7 separate regions of the Homo sapiens genome follow, and all the other regions are linked to region 2. The links are contacts of gene promoters, found by promoter capture Hi-C in blood cells and fetal thymus (Javierre and others, 2016). All regions are on one chromosome and are shown on one strand. The core of a region is centred on a gene start or on the middle of the fragment in contact, and the rest is flanking DNA. Distances in the headings are between cores, read along the strand shown.

What was found. The method cuts DNA at HindIII sites, captures the fragments that hold promoters and counts their contacts. A CHiCAGO score of 5 or more calls a contact.
Region 1: a fragment that was not itself captured here is called in contact with the fragment with the promoter of TCF7L2 in region 2 in 1 of 17 cell types (M1 macrophages); the score reaches 5.5 in M1 macrophages.
Region 3: a fragment that was not itself captured here is called in contact with the fragment with the promoter of TCF7L2 in region 2 in 1 of 17 cell types (M2 macrophages); the score reaches 5.2 in M2 macrophages.
Region 4: a contact is called between a fragment that was not itself captured here and the fragment with the promoter of TCF7L2 in region 2, in 1 of 17 cell types (M2 macrophages). The highest score is 5.0, in M2 macrophages.
Region 5: a fragment that was not itself captured here is called in contact with the fragment with the promoter of TCF7L2 in region 2 in 3 of 17 cell types (megakaryocytes, M1 macrophages and endothelial precursors); the score reaches 6.0 in megakaryocytes.
Region 6: a fragment that was not itself captured here is called in contact with the fragment with the promoter of TCF7L2 in region 2 in 1 of 17 cell types (monocytes); the score reaches 5.5 in monocytes.
Region 7: a contact is called between a fragment that was not itself captured here and the fragment with the promoter of TCF7L2 in region 2, in 7 of 17 cell types (M1 macrophages, endothelial precursors, M2 macrophages and 4 more). The highest score is 9.2, in M1 macrophages.

The regions. Positions count from the first base shown.
Region 1 is chr10:113,319,317-113,322,016 of GRCh38, forward strand. LOC105378490 (a long non-coding RNA gene) reads left to right here. Exons shown (of 2, transcript XR_946329.2): 2 at 1,488-1,655. Among named protein-coding and RNA genes, the nearest start is that of HABP2, 230 kb to the right of the region's middle. The HindIII fragment of the contact is 4,155 bases long and covers 1-2,700 here.
Region 2 is chr10:112,948,802-112,951,501 of GRCh38, forward strand. It overlaps TCF7L2 (transcription factor 7 like 2), which reads left to right and starts at 1,446. Exons shown (of 15, transcript NM_001367943.1): 1 at 1,446-2,144; 2 at 2,406-2,472; 3 at 2,682-2,700. The coding sequence starts at 1,956. It overlaps LOC124902502 (a long non-coding RNA gene), which reads right to left. Exons shown (of 2, transcript XR_007062291.1): 2 at 1,828-2,206. The HindIII fragment of the contact is 8,187 bases long and covers 1-2,700 here.
Region 3 is chr10:112,601,241-112,603,940 of GRCh38, forward strand. The region is part of intron 5 of VTI1A (vesicle transport through interaction with t-SNAREs 1A); the gene reads left to right. It overlaps LOC124902503 (a long non-coding RNA gene), which reads left to right. Exons shown (of 2, transcript XR_007062292.1): 1 at 1-2,700. Among named protein-coding and RNA genes, the nearest start is that of MIR4295, 32 kb to the right of the region's middle. The HindIII fragment of the contact is 378 bases long and covers 1,224-1,601 here.
Region 4 is chr10:113,355,641-113,358,340 of GRCh38, forward strand. No RefSeq gene overlaps it. Among named protein-coding and RNA genes, the nearest start is that of HABP2, 200 kb to the right of the region's middle. The HindIII fragment of the contact is 3,371 bases long and covers 1-2,700 here.
Region 5 is chr10:112,551,989-112,554,688 of GRCh38, forward strand. The region is part of intron 5 of VTI1A (vesicle transport through interaction with t-SNAREs 1A); the gene reads left to right. Among named protein-coding and RNA genes, the nearest start is that of MIR4295, 81 kb to the right of the region's middle. The HindIII fragment of the contact is 5,640 bases long and covers 1-2,700 here.
Region 6 is chr10:113,268,897-113,271,596 of GRCh38, forward strand. No RefSeq gene overlaps it. Among named protein-coding and RNA genes, the nearest start is that of SNORA87, 220 kb to the left of the region's middle. The HindIII fragment of the contact is 2,505 bases long and covers 155-2,659 here.
Region 7 is chr10:112,568,732-112,571,431 of GRCh38, forward strand. All of the region lies in intron 5 of VTI1A (vesicle transport through interaction with t-SNAREs 1A), which reads left to right. Among named protein-coding and RNA genes, the nearest start is that of MIR4295, 64 kb to the right of the region's middle. The HindIII fragment of the contact is 4,295 bases long and covers 1-2,700 here.

The DNA of each region.
Region 1 (2,700 bases), core at 9-2,508, 370 kb after region 2:
ATGTCCTGTAGCCTGTTTTGCTTCTGATCTTGAAACAGTTTGTAAAGGGAAGTTACTCTCCTTGGCTTTGAAAGTGAAGCTCTCCAGATAAGTGCATTTATCCTACTCTCACTGAAGGTGAGAGACCTCCCAAAGTCATTTATGGCAGTACTGGCCCCTTCTGTTCAGCCCCAAGTTAGTCCTATGAGGTTTGTGCCTCCCCTTGCCTTCTGAACTTGGGTCTGTTTCCCATGAGCAGCTCTTGGGTTCTCTCAAGTCAGCACTGGTGCTTGGCCTCCCTGTCTCCACTCATGGCTCCTCCTTCAGGGCTTGGATTGGAGTGATCCTGGTTCTGCCATGGTCAGTCTCAGAATGGGAATTCTCAGCCCTGCATTGGGATGCCACCCTCTGAGTCATCGAGGGCAAAGGCACTGAGCCAAATGGAAAATAAGATGTCAGAAATCCATACTGATCCTGGGAGTAACTCTAGGAAGAGAGTTGTGGTGGACGCCTTCTCACAGTGGCTCTGAATGCTCCCGTTTCCACTGTGTATCTGTAGCAATCATAACCAAGCACTGGTTATTTGCAGCTCACAGATTGCAAGGGTTACCATGGTTCTGATAACAGGCCTGCCCTTGCTCCAGTTGAGTTGAGTGCATGTGTGATCAGAAGCTGTTTGTGCCCTAGAATTCATTACCATGTTTGCACTGAAGCCAGGCCCACCGTTGGCTGCTCTTAGCCAATGAGACACAACAGGGATGCTAAGGCCAGTGTGCTCGTGGGGAATGCAGGACTTCTCTGATGGGTAATTTTGGCTGGAGGACTCCCCAGTGGCCTTGCCAAACTTTCCTTAAGCTACAAAGCAATCCAGGATGCTACTGCCCAAACTTCGTTCAGCTGGAACACCTACATGTGGCCTCTCCAAGTGGCCCGGGCTTCCATACAGCATAGTAGGCTCCCACAATAAACATCTTGAGAGAGAACCAGGCAGACACTGTATCCGCTGATATGACCTAGTCTTGGAAGCCACACAGCATCACTCCACACATACTATTCATTGCAAGCAAGTCACTAGAGCCTGCCCATATTCAGGGGGAGGAGAACTAGACTCTACTTCCTCATGGGGGATGTCTCCAAGAATGTGTGGACATGTTTGAACTCACACAGGGAGTGTCGTTTGCGTTTTTCAGAAGTCTTCTGGTTCAAACTTGTGGGGTGGGGATGGGCTTTCTTAGGTTCAATATTCGTATGCGGAGATTCTTTTATAAGGGGTGTGGAGGTACAATGAAATCTGAGTAGCTTCGAGGTCGTCACAGATTGTCTTGTTACTAGCTTGCTTGTCTCTTGCATGCTGTTAACGGGTTAGTTTTCCTGACACTCAGAACAACAGCCACACGGTTAGTTGGTGGAAGACGTAGGACTTGAACAATTGTCCCCTCACTCTCATTCTGGGTCTCTTTCCATAGCACTGGGATGAACTGAATTCTATGCTTCTCCCATCATTTCAGCTTTCCAGAAAACCCGACTAATGAGAAAACCAGGGACCAGATGCCTGCCTGCTCTAGGCATTGAGACTGATCATGTCAAATGCCACTGAATTTTCCTCTTCACTGTTAAACCTGGAAGTTTCTTACTGCCAACCATGTATGTATGTATTTAAAAAAACTCACAGCTGGTCCTTTGTTGCTGTCTGTTTTCATTGTGCCTTTCTTCTCCTCCAAGTCGCACATGAAGATGTTTTTCAAAAAAGCAAGTTAAGAAAGTGAAATTAAATCACTGACATCTGCCACTCAATCTCACTCAACGGCCTTGTTCCCTGCATTCTTGTGGGCAGAATTTAGGACTTTGTTATTATTAGTTCTTACTATTTCTCCTTTTGGGAGGATGGGCGGGAGGCCAGTAACGAAAAGGAATATAGACAACTCAGTGATTCCGGTACAAGTTTCACTTCCTGAGAGTGGTGGTAACTATTTTGATTTTTTACTTGGTGAAATAAAAACAAGGGAATTACTAAAGCGAAACACATTGATGAAATAAAGACTCTGTATTACTTTATAAAAGTAAAGGAAAACTCTGAGGACAGAATTCTTTATCAATAAAATGAAACAGAGTTAACAGTTATATTTTTACACCTTCTCTTAAAAGACAACATCTTGACAAACCGGGTGTGAAATAACATTTAATTTCACAACCGGGGGCACTTGAATTCCATTTTTGTGGCAGTGCTATTGTTAGACAATCAAAGGCCGAGTCTTGGAACATGTGTGGATGTCATTCCAGGGTAAGAGAAGAGAAAATTGTTATTGTTTTTTAGTTAAGAAAATAACTTACATTATGTAAATTATGCTAAGTAGGCAACTTACACTAAGTAGGCAACAACTGCTACACACAAGCTAATAGCACATCTCCGGAAAAGCTGGTGATTAGGATTTGGGAGGCTTATACTGTTTTCAGTATGGATACCAGGCTGGTGCTGAGCTATCTGTTGTCTGGGATACGTATTCCTTTTCACCATTAGAATTTTCGTATGCTATTGCGTATGTGGTTGCATCTGTACAAGGAAGGTCACTACCGTTCTTTCACTGGGTTCTCGGAGTCGTCCTGTGATATTCTAGATCAAGTTCTTGCTAATTCAAGCCCACGTTTCCGGTCACACCAGTGTTCTGGTGCCTCCACACTGTTCCTCTGGGCTGAGATCTCAGGTATCAGGAGATGCTGTTT
Region 2 (2,700 bases), core at 196-2,695:
AGTGCAGGTGAGCTTTTTCAGGGAAGGGTGGGACAACAGTACATCCTGGACTCTAGACTAATACTACTCCTAAGAGGCAATTTGCTAAATCCTACTGATTTATTTTTTTCTTTTTTCTCTTTTTCATGTTGTAGTGTCCAGTCTACTTCTTACTGGGTATTTGCAAAAATGAATTTTCTTGCTCTATCACCCAGGAACATTGTGTTTTGGGAGCTGGGTCTTTCCTCTTTAACATAATTCCATTCCCCATTTTGTAGCAAATCAGTCTGCTCCTCCTCTAATACCTAAAAGTCAACAAATACCTGCCTCAAGCCCCAGGTTTCCCATCTTCTCCCGAAGGTCTTCTAGCATCGGTTTGGTTAGCAATTTCCTGCCAGAGCCACCTACATCTTGATTATTTTGGTCAGTCTTTCGGGGATTTCATTTCAGACCCCCTTCGAGAAACACTGTAGCCCAACTGATCCCAGGGGTTGGTGAACTTTCAGTTTTATTTTCCCTGACGGTGTTAACGCCCAAACTTTTCACCTCCTAAGTCAAAAAGGACTTTGACTCTAGCTCATTTCCTACTACCTCCAACGTCAGTTAAAAAAAAAAAAAAAAAAGCAAAACACCACTCTACATTTAAAAGAATCATATATTTTTCCTTAAGGATACTTTTAATGTTTCTGACATTTAGCATTTGTTTTTTGCATAAAAAGTCGTTTTGGCATATCCATCCTAGTGGGACTTAACATTTCATGAAATGATTCACTACTAATAAACAAAAAAGGGAGGAGGGAGGCCTCATGGGTTAATAGTTTCTTTCATTGTAGATGACCAGGAACTTTGACCAGCCCCTTCACTTCCCCAAGCTCTCTGAAAGTGGAGGGTTGATCTTTCCTTTTGACCACTTTTGTCGCATCCCGTCTAAGGGTGGCTGATTTCACTGCTGAATTAACCACCAAGCACCCCCCCACCCCCTCCCCCAGCCACCACTTTCTCAAATACTACCCTTCCTTTTCCCCCTCCCTTAAGACTTATTTCTAATATTTCTAAAGTGCACTGTTTTGGGCCTCTCCCCATCCCCGCCCCCCAAGTGGGCTTTCCTTCCGCCTTCCTCGGCTCGGATTCCTGACTTGGTCGCCACCCCCTTCTCCTCCTCTCCCACCCCGCATTGTCTTTCTGAAACCGCCCCCTCCCGGAGCAAGTCCCTGCACCCTCGCCCAGAATCCCGGGCTCGCACACACTCCGCGCAGGCCGCTCCCCCTGCACACTCCTCCCTCCGTCTCCCCCCGGCTTCCCCGCCCCTCTCTTCCTCCTTCTTTCCCTCCTCCCTCTCCCGGCGCCCGAAAGGATCATTGTTAGCCGCCCCCGCCCCGCCCACCCCGGCTGTTTATTTATGCACACGTCACTGGGCCGGCCCCGCCCTCCGGCATCTCATTAAGGCAGTGTGTTCCTCTCGCCCTGTCAATAATCTCCGCTCCCAGACTACTCCGTTCCTCCGGATTTCGATCCCCCTTTTTCTATCTGTCAATCAGCGCCGCCTTTGAACTGAAAAGCTCTCAGTCTAACTTCAACTCACTCAAATCCGAGCGGCACGAGCACCTCCTGTATCTTCGGCTTCCCCCCCCCTTTGCTCTTTATATCTGACTTCTTGTTGTTGTTGGTGTTTTTTTTTTTTTTACCCCCCTTTTTTATTTATTATTTTTTTGCACATTGATCGGATCCTTGGGAACGAGAGAAAAAAGAAACCCAAACTCACGCGTGCAGAAGATCTCCCCCCCCTTCCCCTCCCCTCCTCCCTCTTTTCCCCTCCCCAGGAGAAAAAGACCCCCAAGCAGAAAAAAGTTCACCTTGGACTCGTCTTTTTCTTGCAATATTTTTTGGGGGGGCAAAACTTTTTGGGGGTGATTTTTTTTGGCTTTTCTTCCTCCTTCATTTTTCTTCCAAAATTGCTGCTGGTGGGTGAAAAAAAAATGCCGCAGCTGAACGGCGGTGGAGGGGATGACCTAGGCGCCAACGACGAACTGATTTCCTTCAAAGACGAGGGCGAACAGGAGGAGAAGAGCTCCGAAAACTCCTCGGCAGAGAGGGATTTAGCTGATGTCAAATCGTCTCTAGTCAATGAATCAGAAACGAATCAAAACAGCTCCTCCGATTCCGAGGTAGGAAAAGCCCCTCGGGCTGGTGGGGTTTTTTATCTGTTTCCTGGGCTTGGCAAATGTTGCTGAAAGGGGAGAAATCGGGGCTGGGGGCGGCGGCGGGGCCCGGCGGGCGGCGTGTGCGTACGGTGCCACCATTGCAAAAACTTGTAACCCTGTTTTTTTCTACCCCCCCCTCGACCTCGCCGATTCTTTTTCTCCCCCTTCTCCCCCTTCTGCGTGGCGTTTGCCCCTCGCCCTCCCCACCTCCACCCCTCTGGGAAGGCGGAAAGACGGCCTCCGCCTCGCTCCGAAAGTTTCCGAGACAAATCCCGGGAAAGTTTGGAAGAAGGTGAGTACGCCCCGCGCGCCCCGCAGCCGCCCGGAGCCGCCCCCCGGGCCGGCCGCCCCGCGCGCCCCGGCCCCGCGCCCGGCTCGGCCTGGCCCTGCGCCGGCCCGGTCGGGGCGCCCGGCCCCTCGGGGCACTTTCTAAAAAGTTTCTCCTCACTCTCTCCCGCTCCGCGCGGCCGCCGCTGTCCCCTCGCCGCCCCGCCATGTTAGCGGCCAAGAGGCAAGATGG
Region 3 (2,700 bases), core at 163-2,662, 350 kb before region 2:
GCAGAAAAGTCCAAGATGCTTTTCTAAAGAAAGATATTGACCACAGAGAAACCAGAGTCAATATTACCCCAATGACAGTAAATATTGAAGTTCAATAAAAACTGGTTGGCATATCTGCTATGCCTAAACAATTTTGCTAATATTAAGAAGGTTCTCGGCTAAAATTCTGACTCATCAATTATTTACTTTTTTTTTTTTTAATTTAAATGACTATTTCTATGGGGAATCTTTTGTAAATGTGTCTGGTCTAATTAATTTGGTGCCAACCAGGCACCAATGCCTTGTCGACTCTCTTTATTTACTGTGGTATGCAGTCACTTTTCTTAGTTGTTCCGTGCCTCATCCTAGGAAGTAGGTTTGTCCTGTTTGCTTTCATAAGCATGACTGGCCAGTAAAACCCTTGACCTTTAAATTAATGGGTAATACGAATTCATCTCATTCCATCATGAAACAAAGATTCTCTGTATCAGATATTACTATTTATTAGTAAGACAAGGGGATGGGGGATGCCATGTGCTCTGAGGTATCACTATTAGTTAATGAGAATGGTCCACATTTTATCCTTCTTAGGAGTAATTTTTCTGAAGGGCATTGGGAAATTAAATAAACACATCTGAAATTGGATTTAGATTTTGATAGAGCAGAATGATTACAACTAGGGTCCCTTAGTAGCCTGGGGTTATTCAAATACAGATAAAGACAATACATTTCCATAAATTCTGAAGAAAACATGTGGCTGGAGTATGAGCCATATTTTTCTGAGTGCTGGGGTTGATGGCCATTAAAAATGAGAAGAACTGAAACATGCAGGCATTAGTTCCTCACATGACAGTTGCTCTAAATCACCATTTATAGAATGCACTTTTTAATGTGAGCATTTCTAAAGTTAACATGAGCAATAGAAATGTCAAAAGTGAAAATTAAATCATTAATTCTAACATATTCCTTTCCTAATTAAGAATAATTACAGCAGGGGCTAGATTTTATTCACCCTTTGACCTCAACCTTGCTTGCTCAGTGCCTGGGACTTACTGTTTATTGAGCGAATGAAAAAATTTTTTTTATCAAATCTTTTGCTTAGGCAGGTCCACAAATGGCAGGGGGCATACCCGGGATATTGCTGAAAATGAGCAATTGATATGCAAGAGTTAGACAAAATTCAGCTGAAGCAGTCCAGGGCTTAAATAATACTAGCTCAGAAAATTAAGATAGAGACTTATCAAAGCTTTCTTTCAGACTGATCCTTAAATGTTTTGAAATGTTTATCTAAACCTCTTAAACTCTAAAATAGTTTTGATGCCTTTTGATAGCAAATTCTGAAATGCCTCAATTAATGTGAAGCCACAATTGATTATGTTTTTAATATACAAATATTGGTGCTAATGGATTTATAAGACATTGTGATGGACTTAGAATTGTAAGTCTTTACTATCAGGCAGCCTTTAGGAAGCAGCTACTAACATGTTTATAAAGGATGCATACACTGGGAAATTGTGGTCAAAATGTCAAACAGTAAAACAGCAGAGTTCAAGCTGGTTCACATCAATATTTATTTTAATTTTGTAAACACTTATTTGGGTGATTTTTTTTATGAAAGCCTAAGCTTTAGAGAAACACCTTTATAGATCAATTTTTTAAAAGCATTTGGTCACATAGAACTACTTGAAACTATTGTCCAAATAGCCTGCTAAAGCAGATGTGCTGCTTAATTTTTTTTAAACCCAGTGCATGATTGAAACATTTTCTGTGTCACCTAGTTATCTGTGGTCAGAAGTGTTTGTTGTTAATAATACTTTATTTTGAATTCATAAATGATTTGTGGAGATTCATGGAGTGGGTTCTTTTCAGGCTTCTAGTAATTCATTGTATCGTTTGCCTAAATTGTATTACCATGCTGGCTGTATAACTGAGCCATATCGGGGGAACTGACTTGTTGAAGCTGGTTTGGGCCATGTGGCATTGAAATTGCAAGCATGAGTATAACAAGCTAAACCCAAATGAAGTTGGACATTGCTAACTGGGAGCTTGTTGACAATGTGTTGAGATAAGAGCCTGTTCCCTTCAAGAAAGACTTGTCCCATAGAAGTCTTTTGATCCTGAGGGTGTGGGGCTGCCCTTGACCATTGATATATAGCAGAGGTAGGAAGGGTTTTGTTTAGTTTTTCAATAACATTCATTGCCTTTTTTTTCCTGAGTAGAAAAGTCATTATTTAATTTAATTTTGTTTTATGTTTTGTTTGTTTGGTTTTTAACCATTTCAGTAGTAATAGTAATAGTGATTTCCTTAGTTGTCATGATTTTTCCCAGTAGGTTTTTTTCCCTCATAGGAACTAAATACTGTTTTACTTCAAACTGAGTGCTTCACACTTTGGATCTCAAAATATATCCTAGGAATTTCCAAAATTTCTTCCCCTTGTATGGTATGCTCACAGATTTCTTAGATAGTCAAAAGGGGCATTACATCCCAAGACCAGCTCAATGAATGACAAGAAAGAATAGCTTTCCATCATCCACCTTAGCAACCCACTCCCTCCCAATGCCTTCCCCATCCCCCACCCCACCCAAGCGTACAAGGCCTGGCTGTGTGCCTGGTTACCTGTAAAGGAGAAGAGCAGTTACTCTTGGTAGATGACAACACCCAGTAACAATAACAAAACCTTCATGAGCTCATCCCCCTTAGAAAGCAATTTAGTTAAGCCC
Region 4 (2,700 bases), core at 186-2,685, 410 kb after region 2:
AAGGCCATCCAAGGCACTTCTTTAGAGCCCTGTCTCACCAGTAACAGAGGTGGGAGTCAAAGATGACTTTGCACTTAGTAGCCAATGTCTTCACTGCTCCTATGGGAAGCCAGAGTTTTACTCTTTCCCCTGAATTTTCCCACAGTCATTCCATGAGCTAGTTATGGACACAACTTAAGGGGAACTGGAGATGTGTGTGTGTGTTCATTCCAAACAGTGTCACTGATTGACAGCATGGCTTTGGATAAGCTGATCAGGTTGCTTTGATGCAGATTCTCCACCCCCACCCCACACCTTTGTTGAAAAAGAACCAAAAAATAATACATACTGTATTAAATTATTAAAGGGGTTGTAAGTAAAACCTGAAGCCTGAACTCCTTCCTTCCCCAGTCCCATGTAAAGATTGAGAAGGAAGAAGATACTGGAGTCTGGGGTTCAGTGGTAGGACTCAAGTGCCAATGGAGGTGGTGCCAGGGGCAGCATCATAACTGGATTGTGCCCAAGGTCTGGTGTCAGCTATGTTCTTTGCCCTCTAACCTCCCTTGGTTCCAGCTCATTTTTCATCTCAGCTCTCCAGCATTTCTTCAGACTCTGTAAGCTGCCCACATCTTCCCTATATATTCCTTTTCTGCTTAACTGTCACTGTTACTTTGCTTGCAAACAAAAACCTAGACTGAGAAAAAAAAAATAAGATCTTCTCAGCACCTACTGTGAGCCAACTACTTTGCAGGTTGAGGAACTGAGACACGGAGAGTTAAGGTGACGTGCCTAGGTCACCAAACCTGTTAGAGGTGGTACTGTGATCTGAACCCCCATCTGTCTACATTTCCATTGGGTTTTCTCAGCAAAAAGATACTCTTGAAAAGTAAACCTCCAGTCCATAACCACCCACATCTGCATTGAACTTGCCTCATAGCTAGGGCCTTTGGAGGGTTATAGTTGCGACCCAGACACATTTTCTTCCCCCACTCCCGCCTTAACTTGGTGATTGGCTGTTGTAAATTGCATCGAAAGTGATACGCCTTTCAGTGCTGAGAACCATCATGGGTCTGTGCCTATGATGTAAGGGGGAAAGGGATCCAAACAGTCGAGCAACATGAGTTTGTGTCTTTTGTAACAACTGTGCATTGCTTGTGTGTGCTGCTAATTATTCCTGATTCACATGCCCTCAGTTGATGCTTTTGGAAATTAAATGGGCATGCCTTGTATGGTGTGGAGAGAGAGGCTTGCTCATTTTCTCTCCTTTCACACACTGCCCTTATGCCTGCTGTTGCTCCAACAAGTGGCATCATCCTTAGTTCCTGACATCCCAACATGGGCAGTCAGATGTTGCTGTCTGCTTTCAGAATTACAAACCCACCCACTTGTACTTCTTTGCAGGAGTGAGGTAGCTTGCCAAAGAACGGGAAGTCACCAGAGTGAACATCGTGGAGCCATTGACACCATGTTCTGTTTCTTAACCAAGGAGGAGGCTAGCCACTCTCTGGGCACCTAACTTGCAACAGCTCCCCTGGAGATAGACCCACATAAAACCATTTTATTCTTGACATCACTCCAGCATTTCTGCAGAGCATCAGTCTGGACAGAACTTGGTATTCTTGCTTCTTTTCCACTGACTTTTTAAGAAGCCAGTTATTGAAGATCCAGGGTAATAAAAGCAGCTTGAACTTCATTACCCTCTCTCCAGCATTAGATACTGAAGGCCACGGTGAGTGATACTGTGTATAAAATACGAAGCAGAGAATTAAATGCAACTTGATGGTACATGTTGTACCTTAATGAAAACAAAGGCTCAGGAACACTATTTGTGAACGTGTTACCCAATAAAGTGTTAGCAATGGAGCTCATAAAGCTGCCAGCCAGATTTAACCATTGTGTGGAGCTCTGTTCAGTTGGGCTGGGCAGAGAGAGTGAGGTCTGTTCCCTTTATCACAGTCACTGGAGGTTTTTATTTAAAACACATGGAAGAAAGACACTTGGGTTTGGCACCAAAATGTCTTGTGGTAAAGGAAAAAAAATTAGAAATATCCAAAAGTACTTAAAAAAAAACTAGGGGGAAAAAAAAACATATGTGAAGAAATTAAGATGGGCTGACATAGGGTGCCGCGTTAGCCGTTTAAAGTGATGGCGAAAGCAGAGAGCAACGGGCTTTCTCCACGGCAGCTGATAGACACGAGCAATTGAGCAGTTCATACCCTCTCTGTTGTCCCTGTCACAAGATTTGTAGGTCATTCTCAGCCAGCCATGGGGGCTAAAGGGCACAGGTTGCGACCTGCTGATTTACCAAAGTATGATCAACTCACACAAATTATAGGCGTAAGAGAGGCCTGACAACTTCAATATGATGCGCAATGAGCACAATTATTTGTGACATGTGAAACCAGTGTGAGACCGTAATTCTGTCACTGCATGACAAGGCATTATTAGCCGGGGCAGGCAGCGGCTTGAACCAGGAGCAGCTGGAGGAGAGGCAGGGAAAGAGAGAGGGCTCCATAGGGGAAGGCCCGTGACGGGCTTTCTCTCCCAGAGTGGCAAATAGCAATGGCCCCTTTGTGGAATGTGGAGCCGCTCAGGAGGATGAAGTCGCCCTATTGCTATCTGGTCTGTTGGATAATAAAGGAGCGTTTGGTGGGAAGGGCAGAGGGGAAAGCACACCCTGTGGGCCTGGGGCTGTGCACAACCAAGGTGTCTTCGTTGAAA
Region 5 (2,700 bases), core at 113-2,612, 400 kb before region 2:
CCAATTAACCCATTCATTAATAGACAGATATGTAATTATTTAATATATTATGGAGGTTTTTAATGCTTTAAATCATAAATGTTGGTAATTGTTAATGTATTATGTGCTAAAAATAACAATGGTAACACAGGCGATAACATTGTATATTCTGCTTTAAAATTTTCAGACTACTTTTACATCTGTTAACTCATCGTATCAATCAATAAATTACCTTATCTGAAATGGAAATTTGTTCAAGCTGAGTAACACTGATCCCCTGAATATTTCCCCAAATGCCATCTACTTTCACCATCCAGAATATGTATTAAGTTTTATTTGGTTTCATGAAGAAATAAGTACTTTTAGTTTCCCTCTTTCTCATTAGCATATCTTTGAATTATCTATGTAATGTTCAATACTCTGTGCAGATCTGTTGATGATTAGGACCTGTTCATTTGAAACCAACAAACCAACCAACCAACAAACAAAATCTGTCCTAAGAAGGCTACACAAATTTAAGAGATGCACGAGTTTTTCTCACTAGTGTTAGCATAAGACTTTTACAGACATCCAAATTTTTCATGTAGGTGAGTCAAAGGGATTGACTGGAGTGACTTTGTTACTGTAAAAAGAGACCTTTTAAAAAAAAAAAAACCATTGACTCTAAAAGGTAAGCATGAAGATGGACCAAGTATCTTATTGCCTCACTGATACTGCCTGCCAGCTGTGAATTTTCTTACTACAATGAATCCCCTCATTTTTATTGCTGTGTGCAAGGTACAGTGTTTCATTTTTCTTCCTACTTGGGCTTCCTGTAGAATGCACACCCCATATAGTTCTTTAAATTCATACTGTTGTGAGAACAAGTACGTCTTTCTCTTCTCTCTTTTGTTAACTGTAAACCTTGTGGAGCAACAGTTCTTTCGTGCCCTCTGTAAGTTGCTGGCCTCTGCTCAAATTAAACACTGTAAGATTATCAGCAGGTTACAAAGGTGTAGTGTATCTCTCTCTTCTGCATTTTTGTATAAGGTTGTCTTGATCTGAAAAATGCTAACAAATTCAAATGAACTAATCGTCTCACATCCACCCCTTGTAAATTGGGACTTTGTGTCTTCTACATAAAAAGTAGGGAGAACACACGTGCAATTTCTGTTCTCCTTTGAGGATTTAAAAAAAGTTACTCATATAAAATGCACAGAAATTATTTTTTCATCCAAGTGCCAAGTCAGGTCACCTCTCTTTCACCTGCAGTGAAGCAAAATGGAATGTGCCTGGAGCTTTGCTACGAGACAGACTCAGGTTCAAATCTTGGTCCTGCCACTTAATAACTGTAAGACCTTAGACAAGTTCCTTAGCCTTTCTGAGTCTTAGTTTTCAAATGTATAAAAATCCTTGCAGATCTTCTATATGGAGGTTGTCCTGAGAGATAAATGTGATAAACTATATAAAACATCCAACACAGTGGTGATCCATAAATGTTAGTTTCCATTTGTACTAATTTGCATAGTAACGCTAGCTGCTGTAACAAATAAACCCCAGTCGCCCCAGTGGCTTGATTCAGTGACGTTTATTTCTCACTCTTGAAACTGTGTAATGCAAGTGTCCAAGTGGGCAGACAGCCCTTTCAGGTAGTTATTCAGAAATCTAGGCTTCAGCTGTCTTTTGGCTCTGCCCTGCCCTGGGGCTTTGGTGTCCTTTACCTTTAGCCAGCAGCTAGGCAAAGAAAGTGGAGAAGGTATACCCACTTTTGAAGCTCCGCATTAATTCTACCTGTGTTCCACTGTCAAGAACAGTTGAATGGTGCTACTTAGATGCAGGGGGACTGGGAAGTACAGTTCCAACTGAATGACCACTTTCTAATACAACTTTATACTAAGAAAGAGGGAGAACAATATAGGTGGGTTGGAGGGCAGTTTATCTATCTCTGCAAAGTATTTATTTCTTGCCTACTTCACTGCCTCATACATCATCAGTTAAGACCCTAGCTATTAACAGTACAATGGGCAGAAGTGAAAGGATAGATGACTTACAGGCCAGGTCAGTGGTTGTGATCTTCTAGTTTTTGTGGCAAATGAGACTTTATTTCTCTCTTTTCCATATTAATAGATACATTAAGGAGTCCGATATCATCTGCTTTCTTTTCTACTAGACATTTATCTTTATTCACTTTTCAAATTTATATTCCTTAGGTCTGTAACAAAAAATAATTCTGCTGTGTGTGTTTTTATCTAAGTGGTGACAATAGTTGTAAGTCTGCAAATGTATATATGTCATTTCTAAAGCATATGCTAAAAGTACACTTACACTGCAGACTGTCACAGCCCAGAGGAACTTAAGGAAACTTAACATAATGCAAGTTCTGGATGGAATCCTGGAACAGAAAAAGGACATTGTGCAAAAACCAAGGACATATGAATAAAGTTATTGATTTTAGTTAATAATAATGTATCAATATTGGTTTGTTAATTGTGACACATGTACCATAATAATGTAAGTGATAATGGGGGAAACTGGATGTAGAGTAAATGGAAACTCTGTGCCATGAGCATAATTTTTTTGTAAATCTAAAGCTATTCTGAAATTAAAAGTTTATTTCAACAAAAGGACATTGCAATCACAGTAGTCTTCATATTTATTGAGTACCCATCATGTAATATCATCATTGTTGCAAACCTGACTTCTCTTTTTTAATTTTTTATTAAAATTATAGATAATTTGTCC
Region 6 (2,700 bases), core at 157-2,656, 320 kb after region 2:
GGTCTACATCAGTCCCAACACTGCCTTTTCCTGGCCATATGATTGGCTAAGGAATTAGCATATGTCCCAACCAGGGCCAATTGGAGTCCTTCCCTGAGATCGATATATGGATGCTGGGAGAAAAAAACTGGCCTGCCTTCTGGTGAGAGAGTTAAGCTTTGAAGCTGTAGTTTTGGAGTTTCTGGTGGTGAGCTTTCTCACTTCATGGAGAAGGCCTGTCCACTGCAGGAAAGAATAAGATCATCATTCAGAGTAGCCGAGCTGAGAGATAAAGAGCCTGATGACATCATTTCAATCCCTGGATCCAATCATGATAGAGGCTAGATGTGTCCCTACTTTCCCAGTTAAATGAAACCCAAAAGTCTTTCTGTTTGTATAAGCATATTTGAGCTGGGTTTCTGTCACCTGAACCTAGACAGTCTGGAGGAGGACAGTGTGGAGGCAGGGTCAGGGGAAGGCAGGATTGAGCAGGAGAGAAGTCAAAGGGAAGGAAGCATGAGTAGTAGCCTTCTGTAGGAAGCTGGGAGCTCACTCTGGTTTTCTGAGGCTTCATGAAGCCTGAGCTCTGAGAAAGGACGCTCACTGTAGAAAGACACCTCTGCTTTTGTTGAGGAATCAGTCCCTGGCTCCTGGAATGTGGATATCTACATATATTCAGGTTCTGTACCTCCGTCCCCTGCCAGGCCACTCCTTGGCCAACCAAAAAAACCCATGAGGAATGTCATTAGTTAAGATGCTGAGGTTAGGCAGGTGAGCTTGAGAGTCAGACAGACTTTGATTTCTAACCTCAGTCCTTACCAGCAGAATGGCCTTGGACAGATGACTTAAGCTCTCTACCACAGTTTCCTTGTCTCTCAAAAGAGGCTGATAGTTAGAGCCATCTCAAAGGATTGTTGTGAGAATCCAGTCAGCCAATGGATGCCCAGAGCTTTGCACCATGGGAAACACCCAATGGTAATGGCTATTCAATTCCCATGAATGGGGGAATGTATGAGGTGGATTATGAGACCCCCAGCAATTCAGTGCATGAAGGCGATAATATGGAAGAACCCCATTAGTATACTGTTAAGATTTTTTTGAGTGATAAAATTTTCGAAAAAAGTTTACTTAATTTTTTTTTTTAAAAAAGGAAGTTGGAAGGCATATACTCCAAATAATGGAAATCAGGGACAAAAAGAGATACTTATATGCCCACATTCATAACAGCTTCATTCACAATAGCTAAAAGGTAGGAGCAACCCATGTGTTCATCAGTAGATGAGTGGATAGGTGACATGTGGCCTATAAAATAAATAATGTTCAGCCTTAAAAAGGAAGGAAATTCTGACACATGCTACCACCTGGGTGAACCCTGAAGACGTTATGCCAAGTGAAATAAGCCAGTCACAAAAGGACACATATTATGTGATTTCACAGAAAGCAGAATGATGGTTTCCAGTGGCTGAGGGGAAGGGAGAAGGGGGAGTTATCATTTAATGGCTATAGAGTTCCAGTTTAGAAGGTTAAAATGAGTTCTGTGGATGGATGATGGTGATGGCTGCATAAGTGTGAGGGACTGTACTTAATGCCATGGAACTGTATCCTAAAAAATGGTTAAGATGGTATTTTACTATAATTTAAAAAATAAAAGAAGACATTAGAGCCATATGCATAGTCAGAATGCATTTTTATTTTAATGAAAGTATTAGGTTGGTGCAAAAGTAATTGCAGTTTTTGCCATTACGTTCAAATACATACATTTTGTATAAGTATGGTGGGCAGAGGAAAGAAGGAGGAATGGACTGCATGCCAAATTGTTTACACTGCCTCTATGTGGGATTGGGGGACTGGAGGGAGAGGTGTCACTTTAGATACCTTAGTATTGTCTACAAATTATTACAATGATCAAATATTCTTGCCATTTCAATGACTAATATTAGATTATAATCATTTGCATCGAACTTTTACACTTCGAAAGTGCCTTTGTGGCGTATAAAATGGTGCGGCCATTTGGAAAACAGCTTGGCAGTTCTTCAAATGGTTGAACATAGGCTTCACATACAATCCAGCAGTTTCTCTCCTAGATATACACTGAAGAAAGCTGAAAACATCTGTCTACACACAAATGTGCACATGAATGTTCATAATAGCATTATTCATAATAACCAAAAGTGCAAAGAGCTCAAATGTCCATCAACTGAATGACAAATGAACGGATAAACAAAATGTGGCATGTCCATATGATGGAATATTATTCAGCACTAAAAAGGGATGATACACTGACATGCTACAACATGGATGAAACTTGAAAACAATGTGCCAAGTGAGAGAGGCCAGACACAAAAAGACCACATATTGTAGGATTTCGTTTATAAGAAATGTCCAGACGAGGCAAATCTATGGAGATAGAAATTAGATTAGGGGTTGCCAGCGGTTGGGGAAACTGGAGGACAGAAAAAGCCAATGGGTGTGAATTTTTTTTAATTGCAGTAATGACAATGTCCTAAAATTGATGGAGGTGATGGAAGCATAACTCTGTGATTCTACCAAAGCTATTGAATTGTACACTTTCAATGGGTGAATTGTACAGTATGTGAATTATATCTCAACAAAGCAGTTATAAAAACAAAACAAAATCACAAAATCTCTTTATAAGTCATACAATTGGTTACTTATACCAAGCTTAGGAGGCCAAAATTAAATGAAGAAATACACCTAAAG
Region 7 (2,700 bases), core at 172-2,671, 380 kb before region 2:
TTACCTACTTGTATTGTTTATTCAGTTTGAGATGATCAAGTCTTCATGTTTTTCCCCCCACTTTCTGTAACTCTCCTTTGACCACCTTTCTACCCTTGTGTTCCTCCGCCATGCAGTAGGCCCACTTAAAAGGTGAAACTCAGCTGGGCGCGGTGGCTAATGCCTATGATCCCAACACTTTGGGGGGCATATGTGGGCGGATCACCTGAGGTCGGGAGTTTGAGACCAGCCTGGCCAACAAGGTGAAACCCTGTCTCTGCTAAAAATACAAAAATCATCCGGGTGTGGTGGTTTGCACCTATGGTCCCAGCTACTTGGGAGGCTGAGCCAGGAGAATCATTTGAACCCAGGAGGCGGAGGTTGCAGTGGGCTGAGATCGTGCCACTGCCCTGCAGCGTGGGCACAGAGCAAGATTCCATCTCAAAAAAAAAAAAGCTATGGGAAAAAAGGTGAAACTCAAGTAGGTTAATTGTGTGCCTTCTAGAAACCCTAATGATAAATTTGCTGAGAAGGCGGACAACTGTTTGTTGCCTTCTGTGATCCAGGCATACACTTCATTTGATCTTCATAATTATCTTACGGGGTAAGTACTGTTTTTCCCATTTTGCAAATAAGTATACTGAGGTCCAGAGAGGTTAAGGAATCAGTCCAATTGAAGGGCAGTATAAAGTCAAATCCTTTACTTTTTTTCATTATCACATGCTAAAGATAAAGTGTTTAATTATGCCAATTGACTTCTAGTCTAGAAAACAGAACTGAAAGTTGAATTGGAACATCTCTTAAGTTTATACTCTGAAGACAGAGGTTGGCTTTTGCCCTCAACATGGAGCCAACTGCCAAAGCAGTGCCATCTGTAATGATGTTGGCAGATAACTGTACATTAGTGAGGACTGACAAGCGAAGAGGGTATCCTGGGAAAACTTTGGAAGGTGGTGATATGGTGCTGTGAAGAGCATGCCTCTGAAAGTGGGTAAAAACTTGCATCAGTAGTGCCTGGGTGCCTACTAAAAAAAACACAGCTTCCTGGGTGCCAATGATAATCGACCAGATCAGAATCTCTGGAGGTATGGCCCAGGCAACTTCCTTCCTAAGAAGTAACTTCAGGTACTTGAGAAGCATATTAACTTCTGAGGGTTATTGCTTTCATGTATGAAGCTAATAGGAACCTAGAAGAACCTGTGCTTTGAAACTTTACATGCCTATCTGCAAAGTCTGTTTTTCTCTAGAGAAATGTCTTTTCTATGCAAAGTGTGCATTCAGTACCACCAATTCCCTGCATTTTGGTGCTCAGACCCTCAAAGACATAATTAAGGGGATTTCTTCTTTAAAAGCCTACTGTGTGGCATCTCATACAATTATATGGCCCTTGCTTTTTGTTGGTCTTTTTTCAAATATAACATGCAGTGTTGCCAGGAACACCATCATATTAAAATATAAAATTACCTTTTGTGAAAAATGGAGTCAGGGCATACATCTGGGAATCCAACAAACTCTAAACTGGCTGTGTACAAAATTTTTTTTTTTAAGTTTGGAAACTGATAGCTGCCTGAAGGTTGCATATTTAAAGTCATTTTCCCTGCTTCCTTCATTTTCCCCCTGTGGCAAAGCAAAGCAGCACTTCTTATGGGGAAAAAAAAATTGAAAGAAAGAAAAGAAAACCTAATATTGGCATTCTAGTAGTAAAATAATGGTAAAGATTGAGCCTGGATTTTGTAATACTTTGGATATTGGAATATCCTAATTTCCAGTTGGAAAAATTAGTATCAAATGTATTTTAGATGAAAAGTTCAGTGAATGCTGACCCATATTTTGAGATATAAACAAAAAACAATTAAAAGATAGCTATTTTAATGAAGGAAAATATAATATTTAAATAAAGTGTTTAGACTTCAAAGTAGAGTGTTGCTCACGTAATAGCCAGAATACCTCTGTGCATACATCTCGGAAGAGGCTAAAATGCCAGATGTATTTTTGTGCTAATTTTCTCACCAGCTTCTGGAGCCAGTAGAGGAATTCAGCACATAATATCTCATAGAAGGTATCCCTCTCAGCATTTTCCCACGTTCCTCCTTCTGATTCATTGCTGAAAGCAGAGATAAGAGAGTTAACAAATAACTAGACTAATAATAACCATAATAACAAACATTTATTGAGTGGTTACTGTGTGCCTGGCACCATGTTAAAGAGTTTACATAGATTATTTCATTTAATAACCATGTAAGTCCTATCATCCCCACTTTACAAATGAGGAAATCAGCAACCATTTCAGCTAATATTTATTGAGCATCTTCTATGTGTTGCATACTGTACTGTGCTGTTCCCTGTGTTATCTTTATCTTCAAAACATTCCATTTTATGGTTTATGGGTATTTATCTTTATTTTACATGTGAAGAAATTGAAACTGAGTGATTAAATGACTTATTCAAAATGCCATACTGCTAGATATTAGAGATTCCAGACTTCTTAGTTCCCCATTTTACTTTGTCCTAAGATGATTTAAAATATCTTCCCATCTTGTCTATTCCTTCCAAGTTTATACTCCAAAGAAAAGACTAGTAATATCTCATGTATCCAGTGATTCATCTTAAGGAAACTCGTTCCTCTATAGGAGACAACACTAGCCTTGGAAAGCCATCTTGGGATGCCTTAAAAGAAAAAACTCACAACAAAACATGCATTATAAGATAGCAGTTGACACA